2 separate regions of the Homo sapiens genome follow, and region 1 is linked to region 2. The links are contacts of gene promoters, found by promoter capture Hi-C in human tissues and cell types (Jung and others, 2019). All regions are on one chromosome and are shown on one strand. Each heading gives the region's core, a stretch centred on a gene start or on the middle of the fragment in contact. The rest is flanking DNA. Distances are from core to core; before and after follow the strand shown. Region 1 holds the start of DLEU1-AS1 (DLEU1 antisense RNA 1). Region 2 holds the start of TRIM13 (tripartite motif containing 13).

Region 1 (2,711 bases), core at 133-2,632, 530 kb after region 2:
CTAAAGTAGTCAAATGCCAGCTTCTATTTCACTAGTTTCTATTTCTGTGAAAAACATTTCAGAACTGCTTTCCTCATCCTTCCCACTAAAAATCAAGCATCCCCCCCCCTCCCCGCCCTCCTGTTCTGTGCAGGAAGGGTTGGCCCACACTCACCTGATGTGTTCCCTCCTCAGTCGTGGCCAGCACCAGGTGGTTGCTGCCATCAGATGATGTTCTGCCCTGGCAAGCACATGTTTTTAAATGACTCTGCAGTACCCAGGCTTATAAAAACAAATGCACCCAGACGAAGTTCCAGCGCCCCGCGGGGATACACTGAAATTCTCTGGCCTTGCTGAGCTGGGCTTTGGCTTCGAGTCTCCTCTCAGGCAGACCTGGATACGTCTTCATTCATGTGCCTATTTTAGTCATTGCAAAATGCTTTATAATAATTCCAGACGTGAAATGTGCACAGGAGGACTCTAGTTTGGAGCACAGGCTTTGGGGTCAGAACCTCGGCTTGAATTTTGATGCAATGTATCTGTATAGGTAAGACTTTTTCACCTCTGTGCCACAGTTTTCCCATCTACAGCAGCAACACCTGTCTGTGTAGGGTTCTTGTCAGAATTGAATGAGATAAATGTGATGTATTTAGCACAGTTCCTGGTACATAGACAAACATTAGTTCAATAAAGTTTTTCTAGTATTATCATTTCCTTGTTTTTTCCAAAAAGTAGTTAATCTGAGCACACATCTGTTTATAGGAGGAGGTCTGATGGCCGGGAGGACAGGAAGAAGGAACCCACAATGAAGCAAAAGTTGCGTTTAACTCTGTCCTCACCATTCCTCTCCTGGACCTGTCCTAAACTGGAAGCTGGGGGAGGATGGAGTGCTGGAATGCTGCAGAAGTCTCATGGGAGGGCGCCTGGTGTTCACCACATGTGTACACTGTTGCACGACCAGGTTGGCACTTTGCATGTGGGAAACGATCAGAGAATGGTGGGGGATGCTTAAGAGGCATCACTGGAATCCTACGGTACCACAGACCAGAGCCTTCCCTTCCCTTCCTCTCCCACAGATGGAAATTTGAATGCTGGGGCTCAGTGGAACACCTGAAGGAAGCTGGTGAGGCAGATGTCCCGCTATGCCTTCCAAGTGTCATGCAACCAGTTCATGCCTGTCAGCATCTCTGCCGGTGGACTCTGTGAGTCAGCAAATCTACAGAGCAGAGAGCCACAAGTGGGGACAGATGTGGTCAAATGCCATTTAAATCAGTGATTCTCAACCCAGGAGTTGTCATGGCACTGGCCTTGAGTGAGCTGGACCAAGGGAAGTGGTAGAATTCCCCATGAAGGACCAAGTGAGCAGATAGAAGTTTCTCCATTTTAACTTTTTCTGAGTCAATTTAAAAAACACCTAGTGCCTTTTTCTGTACATAGTGCCTGTGGGTTTGAATTTAAGCCTACCCAAATGTGCTTTTATCCCACCTATTTTGAACCTTGCATGTCTCCGGGATAAGAATTAACATAAGCTATAAATATTCTTCCAGGACTAATTATTAACCGTGAATGTTGAGCGGCCTTGACAAATATAAAATGTTATATATAGGCCCAAGAGTAGATCAGAGAGTTATCTATCTACTTCAAGTTGAGACTCAGAGTTTTCATTAAACTCTGCAGTCTCACAGTATTTCCAATCATTTCAGGGCAGACGAAAGTTCCGTGGTATATCTTTTTAATGTGGCAGGCCTCGAGGGTGGATTGAGTTAGGCAATTTATCCCCTTTTATGCCCTATATTCACATGCAACACTCCAATGGGGTAACATAAAACCACAGACAGGTTTCTTTACACCGGTATTTAAGGGAACTAGGAAAGCAGCCCAAATCATGTGGAGAAAGCTGGGGAAAGAAGTATCAGAGGAGAAAGAGGACCTTAGCAGAAATGACAAAAGTGAAAAACCTTCCTAACTCCTTCAGACATGATGCTTAAAATTGTGTTTCTTTGGCAACTTATAATTTTCTGAAGCTGGTTCTCAGCCTCAGATCCTCCCCCAAGGTTTTTATGTTGTATTTTGACTCAGTAGGAGGGATCCAGTCCCAGACCTTCCGGCTCTCACCAGTACACCACAGGCTAACGCCATCCAGCAATCAGATGACAGGAGGAGGAGAGGTTCAAAGAGGACTACTGTATTTCTCAGAAGGGGCTGGCTCATCTACCCTCCACTGTATTACTCACACTGTAGATGCAGAAAACATGTCAAAGTATACTGGGGCTCTGCAATGCATGCACCCACACACATGTACACATACGCACAGACTTCCAAACTAAAAAGGAGAACAGAGCTCAAAAGGGGACAGTGTGCAACTGGTGCTCCATGTTGTAAGGACCTCCCCTCCTGCGGGCGCGGCTACCCCAGCAGGCTTGTCCGGGCATGTCCGCCCAGTTGACGCCAGGCCAAGTTTTACGGGAGGAATTGGCCTGTGTCTAAAGCTGGAGTTCAGCTTTGCTGACTATGGAGACTGATCTGTTGGTTGTCAGCAAAGAAAAGGTGGTTTCAAAAGAGCAGCAGAGGACTCTGTGCTAGTTGCTACTGGCCAGCTTTGACTCCGATTGGAAGCTTGAAAAACATAGATTGGAAGCTATGCAGAATATCCAGTGACAGAAATAAATCAGAGATTGCCAGGGGCTGAGGGTGAGAGGAAGGAGATTGACTTCAAAGGGGCACAGATAATT
Region 2 (2,712 bases), core at 51-2,550:
TTATTAGTCAACGGGCTGTACTGCTATTTATGGTAGGTTTTGAATACCGTTTCTCCAAAATAACCTATTTCCTCCCCAAACCCAAACTTCCTCAACTGGGATCGAACTCAATCCTACAGCGTGTTCTGAGATTCTATACTCGCCTCACTTCTCCCAAGATCGTAAATTCTGGAGGAGCCATTCCTTCATCATCCATGTTTGCATCCTTCACACCGTTCACTGGTTAAGTGCTTAGTACGTTTGCTATTGGGCAAGGTCCTCAAACGGGAGGTGGACGTCAGAATAGTCAGGTTATCGACTGAGTAACTGTTAGTGGTGGATAATTTAAAGCCAATTTGAAAGTTCATCCTTTCCCCCAAAGGCAAAAACAGGCGTTCCTTTTCTTAAAAGAGAATTTTAAATAGAATTGGGTCTCTGGTGTCCTGCCTAAAGCCCGCAAAGAAAGAGGGTACGGTTGGGGGTGGGGGTGATGGGGGATACTGAACCCTTTTCTGGTTGCGCCTTGCCCGGAGCCCCCGGCTAGAGCCCTGGCGCTCCTGGCGCGCTCCCAACGCGAATCGGTGACTCCGCAGGCCGCGCAGTGCGGAGGTGCCCGTCCCACCCTCCCCCTTGTGGGGTGCGGGGCTCCATTTCCCCAAGCCGCTGGGGTCGGCTTCTGGTCTTGAGATGCGGATGAAGTGGTGTGAAGGGTTGGGCTTTTTTTTTTGTTCCTAAAAATGCAACGAACAAAAAAAAAAGTACAACAATCCAAACCCAACCATCTTAATTGCACGGCAGCTTAACTGGGAGACTTTCTTCCCGGGCGGCCCCACCCGGGACCGCGCCGCTTCAGTCGAGCCCACCGTCTGGGCAAACGGCGTCCACTTCCCGGAGCCGCTGCCCAGCCTCTGCGGGGGGGCTTTGGGCGGGCGCAGGACTCTGGAAGGGAGAAAAGCCCGCAGCCCGGCCCTCCCCGTCCCAGGCGGCCCGCGCGGGTGGACGGCGGGAGCAGGCGGCGGTTGGAGACGCCGGAAGGAACGCGGTCTCACCACCCGGCTCCCTCCGCCAAGGCGAGGCGCGGCCGGGGAGGCGGGACACAGGCGAAGCGGGACGGGGAGGCGGGGCCGGAGGTGCAGGCGGAGGCGGGCGACGGGGAAGGGAGGGGGAGGGGGAGGGGAAAGGGAGGGGGAGGGGGAGGGGAAAGGGAGGGGGAGGGGGGAAGGGACGGGAGGGGAGGGGGAAGGGACGGGAGGGGAGGGGGAAGGGACGGGAGGGGAAGGGGAAGCGGGAGAGGGAAGGGGGCGGAGCTAGCCGGAGCCGCGAGTCCATTTTGGGGCTGTGCTTGGCGCGTACCGTGCGGTCCCTGTAGTTGGAGGACGGGCGGTCGCGCGGCCTTTCCCACTAGCCGGAGGTCGGAGATAAGTACCCGCCGCCCGGCTCCTCTCGGGAAAGCGGGGTGGTCCTCGAACCTTCAGCGAGGGTGGGGAGTTGCCCAGGTCAGCAGGGATCTGCGTGGGTTGGGGGGGCTGGCGAAGGCCGTCTGAGCTCCAGTCCGGCAGCGCGGCAGAAACCAGCGGGGCACTGTCATGGGCCTGGGGAGGAGCGGCCTGCGGAGGGCGCCGGGGCAGTGTGTCTGTGGTCCAGAAAACCTGCTCCGTCCGGAGCCTTCCTGGCCCCGCTACCAGCGTCTCCACATCCCCTAGAAAAGAAAAGACGGGTGTGGGCCTTAGGTTACAGCGCGCCGCCAGCGTTTGGTTGCATGGCGCCGGGGGAGGGCGCCCTAACCGAGAAGCTGCTTAATACAAAGAGCTCCAGGCTCCTGGCGGTTCACCAGGTCTAAACAGCCGGGCTTTATTTGTGGGGGCGATTGAAAAAATTGAGGGTCAAGATTGGGGTGCTGTGCAAATAAATGCGTTAATACTGTTCTTTTTCTTCTTTCTTTGCAGTAGCCTCTAGTTCGTTAGTCAAAACGTGAAAAAAAAGACCTGCTTTGCCCTGGGAAATAGTAACCCTGCCAAATACATCAGCTTGTAGGAGACAGAGGTAAACTACAATAATTTTCCTGTGTTATCTTTTTTTTTTAAACACCCAATTTCAATAGGCCCTAGAACCTTCCAAAATGGAACTGTGTGTAGAATACGTATGTTCCCATCCACTTTCATTGGTGGTCTTTGTTCTTTGCATATTTTGTTAAAACTTAGAAAAACAGAATTCACGTTTAGCAATTATTTATGTGGTATTTATCTTAAATATAGCCAAACATTCATATTACAAAGGAAGAAAGGGGCTTCCACACTTTTTTCCTACTTTTTTTTCCCTTCTCCTATGCTTAGTGAATTGTCAGGCTGCTAGGGCTTGTAGAACAGGGCTTGAGTTTTCTAGAGACCTTTATATAATAGGCACTTTAAAAGCAGAATTTCATTTACATAGGCACTCCTTCTAGTAGAACTTGATGGAGCTGTTAACCGGCTATACTTCCTTCTTGCACAATGGGAGCGTCCCTATCCCTCCCTAAAAATACGTTTTTTTTCCTTTCTCCCAGCTGGCTTACTAAACCTCCCTGGGAAGTCCTTTCCTAAAACCGGGCTGTTCTGTTCATTCTATACATTTATGATAGGTTATCTGGCCTTAATTCTGTCACAGCTTTTGTTCAGATATGCTCATTTTCATGACACTGCTTTGTACCTGATACCTTATGTAATATTTGTTTTGCCTTGCCTTGAAATCACAGTT

The links. Contacts are between HindIII fragments. The study calls those that stand out against the background at their distance.
Region 1: a contact is called between a fragment that was not itself captured here and the fragment with the promoter of TRIM13 in region 2, in 2 of the 25 tissues and cell types used here (dorsolateral prefrontal cortex and spleen).

Annotation. Positions count from the first base shown.
Region 1 is chr13:50,527,125-50,529,835 of GRCh38, forward strand. It overlaps DLEU1 (deleted in lymphocytic leukemia 1), which reads left to right. Exons shown (of 7, transcript NR_109974.1): 6 at 742-940; 7 at 1,056-1,519. It overlaps DLEU1-AS1 (DLEU1 antisense RNA 1), which reads right to left and starts at 325. Exons shown (of 3, transcript NR_125753.1): 1 at 155-325. RefSeq lists enhancers at 1,708-2,711, 1,848-2,536, 2,537-2,711. The HindIII fragment of the contact is 3,495 bases long and covers 1-2,711 here.
Region 2 is chr13:49,995,742-49,998,453 of GRCh38, forward strand. TRIM13 (tripartite motif containing 13) reads left to right here and starts at 1,301. Exons shown (of 2, transcript NM_213590.3): 1 at 1,301-2,022. DLEU2 (deleted in lymphocytic leukemia 2) reads right to left here. Exons shown (of 14, transcript NR_152566.1): 11 at 1,333-1,678. MIR3613 (microRNA 3613) reads right to left here and starts at 760; the gene lies at 674-760. RefSeq lists silencers at 268-317, 908-1,037 and an enhancer at 598-727. The HindIII fragment of the contact is 11,924 bases long and covers 1-2,712 here.